Regions from separate parts of the Homo sapiens genome. Here regions 2, 3 and 4 are each linked to region 1. Evidence: promoter capture Hi-C in 16 types of primary human blood cells and fetal thymus (Javierre and others, 2016). All regions are on one chromosome and are shown on one strand. The core of a region is centred on a gene start or on the middle of the fragment in contact, and the rest is flanking DNA. Distances in the headings are between cores, read along the strand shown.

Region 1 (3,431 bases), core at 280-2,779:
AGGCTCCTCCGCGCTCGGCCTCGCGCCCGGGGGTGGGGGCTGCGGGCGGTCGCGGCCTCCGCCGGGGGCCCCGGGCTGGCCCAGCCGCCGGGGGGCCCGCGGCGGCGGGGAGGAGGGGGGTGCCGGGCACCGCGGGGCCGAGTCGGGGCCGAGTCCCTCCCGCTCCCCGGCCCCCATTGATCACTCGCTTGATCGGAAATTGATCCTCTTTGTTCAATTCATCGATCAGCCCAAGATGGCGCCGGGAGCCGCCGCCGCCACCACTGCCCCCGGTGTCTGCCCCCACCCCGGGCGCCCCCCCGGGCCCCGCGCCGCCGCCGCCGCCAGCGCCGCCGCCGCCGTTGCCGCCGCGGGACCGGGGAGGGGGCGGCCCCGGCGGCCCGCGGGGTGCGCGCGCGAGCGGGGAGCGGGGAGCGGGCGGCGGGGGGCGGGCGGCGGCGGGCGCCGGGAGGGGGCCGCGGCCCGGCGGTGGCGCCCGCCCGCCCGCTCGCCCCGCGCCCCCGGCCCGCCGTATTCCCGGGGAAAGTTTGTGGGGAGTTGCTGCGGGGGGTGAAGCGCCTGCCTCTCCAGGAGGAGCCGCCGCCACTGCCGCCGGCGCGGCGGAGCTGGGGCTGGTGGCGCTGTGGTGCCGCCGGCTCGGGGGAGGGTCAGAGCGGCCACCGGCGGCGGCGGCGGCGGCGCGGCCCGGCTCCGGCCAGGCGGGCGGGTGGCCGGGCAGGCGCCCGCGCTCGCTACCCCCGGCCGGCCCCGGCCGCCGCCCCCGGCTGTCACCGGCCCGGGCCGCGCCGCCGCTCCGGCACCCCGCGTGTGGCTCCCGGCGCGGACCCCCGGGTTTGTTTACGTCCCGGGGAGCGCCCCGGGGCCACCCGCGCACCTCGCGGCCGCCGCGCTCTTTTGTGTGCCTGTGTCGGTGACGCGGACCTGTTCCTCCGTGGCGGACCCCCGCGGGGGCTCTTTGGGGAAACTTGGCGAGGGGCGGCGGGGGTGCCCCGCGCGCAGTGTCGCTGGGTCCCGGTGTCCCGGACCGCCGGGTGCGGGCGCGGGAGGAGGAGGCTGCAACTTTCCCCTAGGCAGGCCCCAAGCTGTTCCCCCGGGTGCCCGGGCAGTGTACGCTGCCTCCCCGCCGCCGGTCCGAGCCGCGATCGCCGCGCGCCTGGGGGCTCCGGCGGCCCCCGGTGACCTGCGGCGCCGGGTCCCTTCCTTGCGTCCCCTCGGGGCTTCTGCCCTCTCTGCAGGGCCCGCCATGGAGCGCGCGGCGGGTGCGCTCGGAGATGCCTTCTCGGGCCGGGTTCTCGAAAGCAGAGCCCCGGGGGCCCGTTGGGACCGTGGCATGCCGGGCGGTGGTCCGCGCGCGGAGTCCCCGGCGCCGCGGGGGGACCGTGCCGGGGCTCCCCGGCCCGCGCCCGAGTCGCCGCCGTGCCCAAGGGGCGAGTGCCTGCCTGCCACCCCCCGCCCGGAGGAGCGGCGCACCCTTAGGGTCCGCCCCGCACGTGCCAGCTCGGCGCCCGCGGCGCCGGGACAGCCCCGGGACTCTGCCAGGTGGATGTTGTGCGTAGCCGGAGCCAGGTTGAAGGTGAGCGGCGTGTGGGCCAGAAGTCCCGAGGTTGCAGGCGCGGAGGGAACCGGGGATGTCGGGGGGTGCCCGGGTCCCGCGGCTTAGAATGCTCTAGGGCGGCCTGGTGCTCTGGGAGGGGATAGGAGGGTTCCTCAGGGCCCCTGGGGAACTGCAGCTACTCCCAACTGCTAAGGTGTGCGTGAAGATAAACTTGGCTGAACTTTCCTAACCTGGAGGACTGGTGACAGTGACCTACCGCAATACCTTTGGGAGCAAAGCTCGAGATGCAGGCTTGTATCAAACGAAGCGGGTTGGATTAAAACATATTTAAATGGAATCTGACAACTTTAATTGTATATGCTTGTTTTCTGCTCTTGCCTACTAAGAACGATAAAGCCGAGTCATAGTCGTTATGAAATTTCCTGAAATTTCTCGCTTAACTAGGAAGAAGACTATGCGAAATATGTATTTCCGATAAGATTAAAACTTAAAGGAGTTTAAGTATTTATTGACTAAAATAGATTACTCCAAAGTGTCTATTGTGTAAATTAGATTCCTGGATGTAATGAACACAGCCGAATGGCATTTTTGATAAATTGGTCTACCCTGTTTTAGTAAAAATAGCTCCCTTTTACCATAATTTAATTCCTGTGCTTACTGTAAAACCCGTTGTGGAGTTTTAAGGACAAACATTATTATTATTTTTCTCTCTTGTCTTCCTAAATGTGACATCCTAGCTTAATATCAATGAAGTGTCTTTTTTAAAGCATCCTGGCAAAATTGCCTGGAAAATGGATTTGGTTTCTAGAGTTACTAGATTTTAAGAACTCTAAACCTTCCTGTCCCCCATATTAGCTACTTCTTCAGGGGATCAGGGCTCCAGGGTTCCATCGAAAGTTTCCATGTCAGTTTACTTGCACTTTATGTGGATATTAAGAAGAAATCAAAACCAAACCCCAAAACAAAGTCCCTTATTTGAACTTCATTCCTCTTTACTCCTTTGCTTTTGGTGGTTGCTAACGATTTGGCCTTAGATGATTTCCTATGGGTTTGCAAACTTTAGTCGAATACGGAATGTCAAAGTTCAAGTCTCAGGCCAATCTGGTTCTTTCTCTGGGCGGTGAGGAGGCCTTTGGAGTTGGTGTCTGGTTAATTCCCACCGATAGTCAGTGAGTCAATAGAACGAGTTTGGGAGAGAATTCATTAGTTCCAGATTTTTCTCATTTTTCCAGACCTCTTTATACTGAGATTGGGTTGCCACCTGGGGGTAAAGAGGCTGATCGGTCTTTGCAGAGAGAAATCCAGGTTGGAGACGTCAGCGGGTCCAGGTGAGGTTGGGCCGTTCCGCAGTTCTGCAACCCTGGCTCACTGGGTTCTTGTCCCTCGGCTTCCTGGGTCTTGAAGCTGCTGCCTTGGCACAGGAGTGTGTGCTCAGGAAGAGAATTTCTGAAGATTGTGTTTTATTCCGTTTCCTTTTTAGTCCCAAAGGCTTGTGGTATGGAAGTTTCAGTGCTTTGGTATTGCTAAGACTAGTTGGACAAGTTTTTTATCCTATCTCAGACTTGTAAAAACCAGGTTTTCTTTTCTTTTTAAATAAGAAAAGCACTGTTGTATAAATTTGTCTTTTAAATACATATTTGAAAGGAGGACACTTTCTAAGACAAAGCTCATGGCACTCTGTATGTTAGTGGAGCTTTGAACTCTTTGGGACGGGGCCCGCCAATGACTGCCTTCCCTTTGGGACATTATTCCCACATGGTGACCAGCCTTCCCCTTTAAGCAGCTTCTGCAAAAGTAAACTTGAAAAGTTGCCTTCTTTTTCAGAATCAAAAAACAATTTCAGTTTTGCTGAAAGTCCATTTTCTGATGGCTTTTT
Region 2 (3,431 bases), core at 488-2,987, 120 kb after region 1:
AAAAGAAGTGAAAATGGCCTGTTCCTGCCTTAACTGATGACATTATCTTGTGAAATTCCTTCTCCTGGCTCATCCTGGCTCAAAAGCTCCCCTACTGAGCACCTTGTGACCCCCACTCTGCCCGCCAGAGAACAAACCCCTTTTGACTGTAATTTTCCTTTACCTACCCAAATCCTATAAAACGGCCCCACCCCTTTCTCCCTTCGCTGACTCTCTTTTCAGACTCAGCCCACCTGCACCCAGGTGAAATAAACAGCTTTATTGCTCACACAAAGCCTGTTTGGTGGTCTTTTCACACGGACGTGAGTGAAAGAGACTGCCATTCATGAATGGACAAGGCCTGGCTCCGTCCACGCTTTCCCAGCTCTGTGTCCTGCCATCGGACATGCTGGCACATCTGCTGTGGGTGCCCTGCACTTCTCCGGGCACTCCTGGCCCAGCTGGGGAGGTTGGCATGGTATCCACCATTTTGTTCTAAAGTAGTAAATGAAACTCTTGGGAGGGCAGCACCCAGCAGATGTTTGGAGCTAGAGACAGGGCTCTGGGGATGTGTAGGAACCCGGACCTGGTGTGGCAATGGTGTGGGGCTGTCACGAGGCGTGAGGAGGCTGGGGTGGTGTTGGGGACAGCACACGATGCTGGGGCTCAGGCCAAGTGAAGCTTGGACTTCACTCTGTCTGAGGCTTTGCCAAGTGTCAGAGGGTGCACACTTGGGAGTCACATGGCCAGGCTCACATTTCCAGCCGAAGTTACACTCTACAGCCTGGCAGCAGATGGACGTTTGGGGACAGAGGTGGAGCCGGAACAGCTGAGACACTGTTTTAGAGGACTCTGCGAGAAACACGCTCTTAAAACAAGGAAGCGGTGGTTATGTCTTATTCAACAACGATCTGTTGTGGACCAGCTGTGTGCCAGGCAGTTGCAGGCCCTGAGGCTGCAGCAGTGAGCAGAAGGCCAAGGTCCCTGCCCTCGCGGTGCTTACATTCTAGTGGAGACAGATGTTAAACTACAGGGCAGGAAAACACTGTCAAGGAGATGCAGGTGGAGGATTCTGACTGTGGAACTGGGGCATAGAGACAGTGGGTTTTGAAAGCACTTGGCTGAGAAGGATGGGAGGAGGGAGGAGGGAGGAGGGCGGGTACATCTGTAGATGGACCAGGTTAAGGTATGGACTTCCCCATCCTGACAAGGGGGAGCCCCAAGCTTGTTTTCAGGTGTGACGGGGGTGGGGAGAAAGAGAGCATTCCAAGAGAGGCACGAACGTCATTTCCAGAGCGAGATGAAGGTCACAGAGTTTGGGAGGAGATGGGATCCGGCACTCGGGCTGGCGAGCAGACAGGAGGGAACTCAGGGAGATGGGAACCCCGGGGAGGAAGTTAGGGCAGGATCCCCTGGGAGTTTTCCCGGATACATAGGAGAAAAGGTTATCCTTCAAGGGTGAGCGGGGGCTAAGTGCAGGGGACAGAAGAGAGGAAAGCCCGGCGACCATCATGCCCGGCTGCCGTGGGTGGTCTGGATTGGAGGCGGCAGCCGGGCTGTGTTTGTGCGGAGGGTGGCAGGGGGCCAGCGGAGGAAACTGCCCAGGCGCCAGCCCTGCCATCCCCACCGGCCTCCTCGCTTTGGGGTTTTGCTTTCTGCCCTGGCCACGTGGGACCGGCTAGGTGGAGATCATGCAATCAGGGTTCCCAGCTCTCAGAACCATAATGGTTAAGCAAGCAGCTTCGTTTCCAGGCACGCAGGAGCTCCCCCGTGTCAGCGTTTTCCTAACATGGCTAATCATAAAAACCTCCTGGGTGTGTGTGTATGCTTGTTAAAAATACTGTCCCTGGGCCCCACCCTAGACTTAGTGAGACACAGTCACCGGGGAAGGGCCTGGGGACTTGCATTTAGAACCAGCTCCTGGAATGCTTACTCTGAGGCCAGTTTGGGCCCCCTCCCATGGCCTCCCTCTGTGTCCCTTCCTCCAGATGCTGATTGAGGATGTGTCCCCTGCCGGGACTGTGTTTGCATGTCTCTGTCTCTGTCACAAAGTAGATGCCTGGGGAGTGTGTGCTGCGTGGCCCCCTGAAGACCCTGTACCGGGATGTCAGCACCCCAGCCCCCAGCTCCTCCCCCTGTGAAAGACATTAGCTCCTGGAGGGGCTCAGGTGGTGGAAATGAATCTTAGCATCAATGTTTAGACCTAAAAGCCATCTCCAGGTCATCATAGCACATGACAGAGATAGAGGCAGAACCTGGTGGCCATAGGATTATTTCTGAGCAAAGATCGCCCAAGCTTTGGCATAGGCCAGGGTTATTCACATGTCCGAGTCCCTGGAAGTGGGGTGTGAGGAGGTTGTGGGGGGCCTTCAGAATGAGGGAAAAGGGATAAATCAAAATCAAGTCTTTTTTTTTTTTTTTAATTGAGACAGAGTCTCGCTCTGTCTCCCAGGCTGCAGTGCAGTAGCACGATCTTGGCCCATTGCAACCCCTGCCTCCCAGGTTCAAGCAATTCTCCTGCCTTAGCCTCCCGAGTAGCTGGGACTACAGGTACGTGCCACCATGCCCAGCTAATTTTTTTGTATTTTTAGTAGAGACGGGGTTTCATCATGTTGGCCAGGGTGGTCTCGAACTCCTGAGCTCAAGTGATCCACCCGCCTTGGCCTCCCAAAGTGCTGGGATTACAGGCGAGAGCCACCGCGCCCAGCCTAATGATATAAATATTAGTAGATTTCTGCTTACTCACTTCACCACCAGCATTTTCTAGCAAATGTGAGTTCAGCAGACACCAAAGATTTTTATAAATCAAAGTAGACAGTCTTTAACGTTGAGAAGATTCTGTTAACTCATCTGTTCTACCCACACTCTTGCCCTTCCCTCCTCACAGAAAAGCCAGGAGAAGGGTGAATAATTGAATTACAGATGACAGTAAATATTTGGATCTAGCTGCTTATGAGGCCTTAATGATATCAGTCAGTACAAAAGGTTGATATCCATGTTTTTTGGTGTGTGTATTTTTTTTTTTTTTTGAGACAGTCTCACTCTGTCACTCAGGCTGGAATGCAGTGACGTGATCACAGCTCACTGCAGCCTCAACCTCCCAGGTTCAAGCGATCCTTCCATCTCAGTCTGCTGGGTAGCTGGGACCACAGGCGTGTGCCACCACACCCAGCTAATTTTTTGCAGAGACAGGGTCTCGCTATGTTGCCCAGGTTGGTCTCTCAAACTCTGGGGCTCAAATGATCTTCCTGTGTCAGCCTCCCAAAGTGCTGTAGTTACAGGCATGAGCCACTGTGCCTGGCCGATATCCACCATGTTTGGAGCCTGTTTTTGGTTACATTTCATCCTCATCTACTGGCCTGGAGATATTGGTGTCAATCAGTTCTTCACTGGGGGAAGAGATTTTTTTAAAAAGTCAGATTTACACTCAGTAAGATTCACCCTTTTCAGGT
Region 3 (3,431 bases), core at 277-2,776, 80 kb after region 1:
CCCACCTCAGCCTCCCAAAGTGCTGGGATTACAGGTGTGAGCCACCATGCCTGGCTCACCCATAAAATTAAAATGAAAAGAGCAGACCACAGCCAGCAGTCTTCCGACCTCCAGCTCTTGCAGGTCGTGGGCAGCCTTGCCCCAGGTGCAGCAGGTAGGCCAGGAAGCAGGTGTGGGAACAGAGCAACAGCAGGCACCGTGGGGACATGCACAGTAAGCGTCGAATCGGTGTGCGTTTGCAGAAACGTGAATGGGTGAATGAAGGGGTGTATGAAGGTATACACAGGAACGCCACAGTCAGCTTTGTGTAAAGTAGACCAGTGAACAGATTGCTGGTATTGCTTCTGACAGCTCTGCTCCTCAGGGGAAAATGGTGAACTCACTTTAGAACTCGCCTTTGTCAGCTCCAACTAGACTCTGGAAGGAACACAAATGCTCAGACTTTCCCATGACAGACTGTGAAGCAAAGCCAGTTACACAGCTACCGTCACTAATATTTTTGGTATAAAGCAGTTGCTAAAATTAATTCCAGTCTGAAACTTGATGAATTCTCAGTCATGGAATTAACAGGTCTTAAATGGGAAAAATAAAAAATTAGCTTGATTAAAAATAAATGTTTGTGCTGAAATGTGGAGCCTGTCTGTCCCTAACAAACTAAATATGAAGTTTTTCATCTTAGAGGATTTGTTTGCCTTTGAGTATTCATAGGGAAAGTGCACGTTTGTACCAGAAATTTAGAGACGCACTCCCAGTAAGTTCTTACGAGCAGTCAGTATTATCCTTTTTGTATAAGGCAAGCAGTCAGTCCCTATGAAGAGTAAGATACAAGCCTGGCTCAGCAGTGGCCCCCCTGAGCCTATCTGATGTGCAGAAAAGTCACGCACACACAACTGTCTTGAAGGGCAGCCTCCTTTCAGCCAGCACCCATTTACTCCCTCTTATTAGGCCTTCCTCTGAATTTATATCAAGCAAACTATTTAGGACGCATCTGCGAAGCAGGAAGTGTGTTTCATTTTGTTTTTAATGAGGTTTCAAACTCTCTCTTCCCATCTCTGTCCCTGGATGACAGCGCAGAGTTTTACGTCATTTGCTATTAGACATCTTGTGGCTTGACATCCTCGAAGGCTCAGCCACCCCTGGGTGTGTTTGGTTAATACAGCAAGTGAAGCCTGGGCAACATATCGAGGCCTCATTTCTACAGAAATTTTTAAAAAGTAGCTGGGCATGGTGGCATGCACCTGTCGTGTCAGCTACTTGAAAGGCTGAGGTGGAAGGATTGCTTGAGCCCAGGAGTTCAAGCCCGCAGTGAGCTATGATCGTGCCACTGTACTCCAGCCTGAGTGAAGGGCGAGATGTTGTCTCTTAAAAAAAAAAAATAATAATAATAAAATAAAGAAAAGAAAAAAGTAGAGGTTCTGTGCTTAGTTAGAAGATATCTAACAACACAATTGGTTAGACTTTCATAATTATTTCTGCTGATGTAAGTATCACAGCGCAGGTCATGGGCAACAGTTTACTGTTTTCACACCCAGCTTCAATGTTAAATGAACCCCAGACTATAGCGTGACCAGTCTGATATTATCATCCCCAAATCTTTATAGTTTCAGCTCTTGGGATGGATGACTGAATAACCATTTTTTTTCCAGTGTGGTAGTCTTAGGGTTTTGCTTATTGGTGTGTGTGTTTCAAGAGGAACCTCTGTTCCTTGGACTTGATGTGAGTGGCAAGTCATGTAAAAAGCTGGATTTTATCAATAGTTTTTGTCTAAAAACCAAAACCAAAAAATTCTTCCCCTGCAGTACCAGTGCTTGAAATAAACCACCCTCCTACCCCCACCCAGCTTGCCTGCGTGGATCCAGTAGCACCCCCGGTACCCCGGTGGGCCTTTTTGGCAGCCCCGAGGGGTCAGGGATCTAGGGGGAAGAGTCACCGCAGGGAGCGCAGATGTACTTGGAGTGGGGAATGGTTGGGGGGGACCCATTCCCCTGCTTTAAACCGCAAATGTCTTTTGATATCTAGTAAAATTGGCAAGCAGAATGATTGAAAACATGTGAGAGGTAACTGGATCTAAGTCTCAAGTAGTACATATTTGAGAAGTTTTCCCCAATGTAAAAGTCACTCTTTAAGAGCCTTAAACTAATAAAAACAAGGAAATTCCATGTTACGGCTGCCACTCGGCCTTTTCATTTTTATTCCAGAAGTCAGATCTGACAGGTCAGCAGCTCACTGGCTCTGGGCTCCCCGTGTTTAAAGCAGTGGGGACGAGGAGAAGAACTGGCAGCCGCCGGGACGGGGAAGTCTCCAATGCCATTCAGTGCCAGGCTCGTAATTCCCTCTTAGTTTATCCTATTTTCTCTTCTTGGGGCGGCTTCCTGTATGTACTTTATTCACTGAAGCTGCTTCAGGATTCCTTCAGAGACTATTCTTGTTTCTTTCCATTTCTGTGTCTTTTTTTTTTTTTTTTTTTTTTTGAGACAGAGTCTTGCCCTGTGGCCTGGGCTGGAGTGCAGCGGCGCGACCTTGGCTCACTGCAACCTCCGCCTCCCGGGTTCAAGTGATTCTCCTGCGTCAGCCTCCTGAGTAGCTGGGATTACAGGCACGCACCACCACACCTGGCTAATATTTATATTTTTAGTAGAGACAGGGTTTTGCCATGTTGGCCAGGCCAGTCTCGAACTCCTGACCACAGGTGATCTGCCTGCTTCGGCCCCCCACAGTGCTGGGATTACAAAGCATAAGCCACCGCACCCGGCTAATTTCCTTTATAGTTACACTAGCTTGGAAGAATAACATACTGAGTGGCGTGGAAGGCGTTGGTGCACATAGGTGCAGCATCCCAGAGCCCCGTCCACTGGCGGCTATTTGTGCATGGCTGCCTGTGGCTTCTTATCTGTGATGGAACCTCGTGGGCAGAGAAGTGGCTGGAGAGCATCACCAAGGCTGCCTGGTCCAAGTTGCTTCCTGTTGCTGCATGGGCAGTGTTCTGGGGTCCAGACCCTGGGTGGTAGTGATAAGATGGTGATGGGGTGGAGTGGGTCCTTATAGATCCCACATTACTGAGCGGCCTTTTGCCCTTCAAACCAGATCACAATCCCCTCCCTGCCAGTTGGTCCTCAAGAAATCACAGGAGGCTGGGCGCAGTGGCTCACGCCTGTAATCCCAGCACTTTGGGAGGCCAAAGCAGGTGGATCACTTGAGGTCAGGAGTTCGAGACCAGCCTGGTCAACATGGCAAAACCCGGTCTCTACTAAAAATACAAAAAAAATTAGCCAGGTGTGGTGGTGCACTCTTGTGATCCCAGCTACTCGGGAGGCTGAGACAGGAGAATCTCTTGAACCCAGGAGGCAGAGGTTGCAGTGAGTCAAGATTGGATTGTGCCACTGCACTCCAGTCTGAGTGATTCTGTCTCAAAAAAATAAAAAAATAAAGAA
Region 4 (3,431 bases), core at 344-2,843, 70 kb before region 1:
GGCATTTCCCAGGCAGGAGGTACCACTTAGGTGATGACTGACTCCTGGTGACTCTTTGACCTTGCCTGAACCACGAGTGACTCTGGAGCAGCGAATGTATTATCTCTATCACGCCAACCAAGAGCTGATATAGATAGGGCATTATTGAAGATCCATCTAAGGGCAGATGGAAGAGGGGCCCATGAAGCCACACTCCAAGGTCTAGTTTTCTTGTTGTTTTTTTGGGGGGAGTGGGAGACAATTATGGGTTTTTGTTCTTTGAGGGATTTTGGGGGTTTTGTTGGTTTTTTGGTTGGGTTGTTTGCTTTTGAGACAGGGTCTTGCTGTGTCACCCAGACTGGAGTGCAGTGGCACAATCATGCCTCACTATAACCTCAACCTCCTGGGCTCAAGTGATCCTCCCACCTCAGCCTCCCAAGCAGCTGGGACTACAGGCATGCACTGCCATGCCTGGCTCATTTTTAAATTGTTTTTTAGAGATGGGTTCTCACTATGTTTGCCCAGGCTGGTCCTGGACTCCTGGCCTCAAGAGGCCCTCGGCCTCCCAAAGTGCTGGGATTACAGGTGTGAGCCACACCACAGTTGCCCTCTAAAGTCTAGTTTTATCTTGTGAAGAGTGAGGAGCCGCTATGAGGTGATAAGTCAGTGTCCTTCCAGACCCTTCCAGGAAGCCCACTCCGACTGTTACCCTGGGGTTCACTGGTATCTCTGAGCACCTTGTGCTTCTGAGCCAGGCCCCCGGCTATGGAAGGGGTGGGGGCGATGCTCCTAGAGGTTGGAGGACAGATCATGAATGACAGAACAGTCTGATTTTCCTGGAGGACGCCCCTCCTTAGACAGGGCAAGCCCCCAGCCAGTGCCTCCTCCTTCCCAGCACTCAATGCTCCTCCTCTGCCTCCTTCACCTTTCACTTCCTCTTCCTCCACCTTCTGCTGCTCACCAGAGTCCAACTCACATTTCTTTAAAAACTTAAAATGGGCTAAGTGCATGGTGGCATGCACCTAAAATCCCAGCACTTTGGGAGGCTGAAGCAGGAGGATCGCTTAAGGCCAGGAGTTCGAGGCTGCAGTGAGCTATGATCACACACTGCTGCACTCCAGCCTGGTTGACAGAGATCCCATCTCTAAATATTAATAATAATAGACTGGGTGTGGTGGCTCATGCCTGTCATCCCAGCACTTTGGGAGGCTGAGGAGGGCAGATCACCTGAGGTCAGGAATTCGAGACCAGCATGGCCAACGTGGTAAAACCCTGTCTCTACTAAAAATACAAAAATTAGCCAGGCCTGGTGGCGGGCACCTGTAATCCCAGCCACTCGGGAGCTTGAGGCAGGAGAATCACTTGAACCTGGGAAGCAGAGGTTGCAGTGAGCTGAGATCGTACCACTGCACTCCAGCCTGTGCAACAGACCATGATTCAGTCTCAAAAATTAATAATAATAATAATAAAATAAAGCTTCTTTGATGAACGGATCCAAAATTTTCCGATCAGAAAATCTAGAAAGAAGGTATTTTAATTTCAGCATATGTGTAAGTTTCATGGTTTCAGGGGTGTCCAAGGGAGAGAATACAGTCACAGGCTCTTAGTTTCTGTTTCTGGTTGGGTCAGTAAATCCCCTTCCTCATCCCTCTTTTCCGCTTGTCACTAGAGACAGAAACTAAAAACCATGGTTTCAGGCTGCTAAAAGCCTAAAACAGAACAGAACAACAACAGCCAAACAAGGCAGGTTGGGCAAGCTTGATAGGGTTTAGTATCATTTTTTATTGTTTATTCTGTATGGACAGGGCACATCATCTGCTCATTGTGGGACCTGCGCAAGACCCAGATCAGGGCTACCTCCTCCAGGAAGCCTTCCAGGCTCTACAGGCTGCGTCAGGTCCTATCTGCCGTGCTCCCACAGCCCCTGGGGTCCTCACCATTGCAGTCCTCAATACGCAATATTGGAGTCATTGGTTTACCCATCCCTCTCCCTCATCACGAGCTCCTGGCGGCAGAAACTAGAGTCATTCCTCCCTGCGTCCCCAGCGGTGCAAGCAAGGTGCCAGGAACAGTTAGTGGCACTGAGTCTGAGAAGCAGGCTGGCCTGTGTAAGTTGCCTTCTGCTCCAGCTGTGTCCTGGGTTGTGATGGGATCAGACCGCCTTCTAAGAGGCCCTTTCACAAGCTTGCCACCCTCCCCCACCGGGTTGTGGGACCCTCTTTGGAGCCTCAGAGAAATCCCTTTCTTCCTGTCTCCCTGGACTCAGCCACCACCCTCCCAGCCTGCCGGGAGGGGACTCCCACAGACACCTCCCCTCCCTGTCCAGCCCGGAGGAGGGGGATCAGATGCCGGGCTGGAGGCCCCTTGTCTGCACAGAGGCAGGATTTATCTCAGTTTGGGGAGGTCTGGGGCCCCCAAAGTCCTAGATCATCATTAGTTCCATCAAAGAGGCGGCTGTGATCTCAGAGACAAGATGCATGGTGTTCAAATTGGAAACAGCCTGGTGGGCCGAGGGGCCGCGCTGGGCGGGGAGAGGGTTCGGGCCGCCTCCGGGGGACCCCAGGACACTGGAGGCATCCCACAGACGGTCACAGGAAGAGGAGGAGGAGGAGGAGGAGGAGGGAAGAGAAAACATTCCACTCAGGCTCCAGGGAAGAGAGCCGTGCACAGATGGAGCAAAGCCAAGTCTGCGAGTCAAGGCGACCTCCCCACGGAGGCTGGAGAGAAAGGATGGCCAATTGTACTCACCAGTCACCCCATGAGGGTCCTACTGCGTCCCACCCCGCACCGCAAACCTTCGTGGGCCCTGTCTCACCACCCACAGCAACCCCTGAGAACTAGAAAGTGAAGGAATGCATTGCCTTTGCTTTACAGATGGGGAAACTGAGGCTCGGGTGGGGGGAGGGCAAATGGATGTGCCCTAGATCACCAGGGGTACCTGGCACGGCTGGGGTTCCAGCCCAGGTGCCTGGGTCTCTGGAACTTCACCCTGACTCTGGAAAGCCATAGCAAGGAATTGGTTTTTTTTTTTTTTTTTTTTTTTTTTGAAACGGATTTTTGCTCTTGTTGCCCAGGCTGGAGTGCAGTCTCGCGATCTCAGCTCACTGCAACATCCGCCTCCCGGGTTCGAGCGATTCTCCTCCTCAGCCTCCCAAGTAGCTGGGATTACAGGTGCCCACCACCATGCCTGGCTATTTTTTTTTTTTTTTTTTTTTGTATATTTAATAGAGATGGGGGGCTGGGCACAGTGGCTCATGCCTGTAATCCCAGCACTTTGGGAGGCCGAGGTGGGTGGATCACGAGGTCAGGAGATCAAGACCATCCTGGCTAACATGATGAAACCCTGTCTCTACTAAAAATACAAAAAAATATTAGCTGGGTGTGGTGGCGGGTGCCTGCAGTCCCAGCTACTCGGGAGGCTGAGGCAGAAGAATGGCGTGAACCAGGGAGGC

The links. Contacts are between HindIII fragments. The CHiCAGO score rates a contact against its expected background, and 5 or more counts as called.
Region 2: a contact is called between a fragment that was not itself captured here and the fragment with the promoter of CUX1 in region 1, in 3 of 17 cell types (monocytes, M1 macrophages and fetal thymus). The highest score is 8.7, in monocytes.
Region 3: a fragment that was not itself captured here is called in contact with the fragment with the promoter of CUX1 in region 1 in 1 of 17 cell types (monocytes); the score reaches 7.3 in monocytes.
Region 4: a fragment that was not itself captured here is called in contact with the fragment with the promoter of CUX1 in region 1 in 14 of 17 cell types (total CD8 T cells, naive CD4 T cells, naive CD8 T cells and 11 more); the score reaches 15.6 in total CD8 T cells.

Annotation. Positions count from the first base shown.
Region 1 is chr7:101,816,097-101,819,527 of GRCh38, forward strand. It overlaps CUX1 (cut like homeobox 1), which reads left to right and starts at 1,530. Exons shown (of 24, transcript NM_181552.4): 1 at 1,530-1,573. The coding sequence starts at 1,544. RefSeq lists an enhancer at 1-714 and silencers at 540-699, 810-1,129, 1,200-1,279, 1,310-1,379, 1,430-1,479. The HindIII fragment of the contact is 10,531 bases long and covers 1-3,431 here.
Region 2 is chr7:101,935,125-101,938,555 of GRCh38, forward strand. The region is part of intron 2 of CUX1 (cut like homeobox 1); the gene reads left to right. Among named protein-coding and RNA genes, the nearest start is that of CUX1, 120 kb to the left of the region's middle. RefSeq lists enhancers at 1-284, 285-856, 802-941, 857-1,428, 1,429-2,000. The HindIII fragment of the contact is 1,072 bases long and covers 1,202-2,273 here.
Region 3 is chr7:101,896,138-101,899,568 of GRCh38, forward strand. The region is part of intron 1 of CUX1 (cut like homeobox 1); the gene reads left to right. Among named protein-coding and RNA genes, the nearest start is that of CUX1, 80 kb to the left of the region's middle. RefSeq lists enhancers at 1-175, 176-676. The HindIII fragment of the contact is 4,202 bases long and covers 1-3,431 here.
Region 4 is chr7:101,745,613-101,749,043 of GRCh38, forward strand. No RefSeq gene overlaps it. Among named protein-coding and RNA genes, the nearest start is that of CUX1, 70 kb to the right of the region's middle. The HindIII fragment of the contact is 281 bases long and covers 1,454-1,734 here.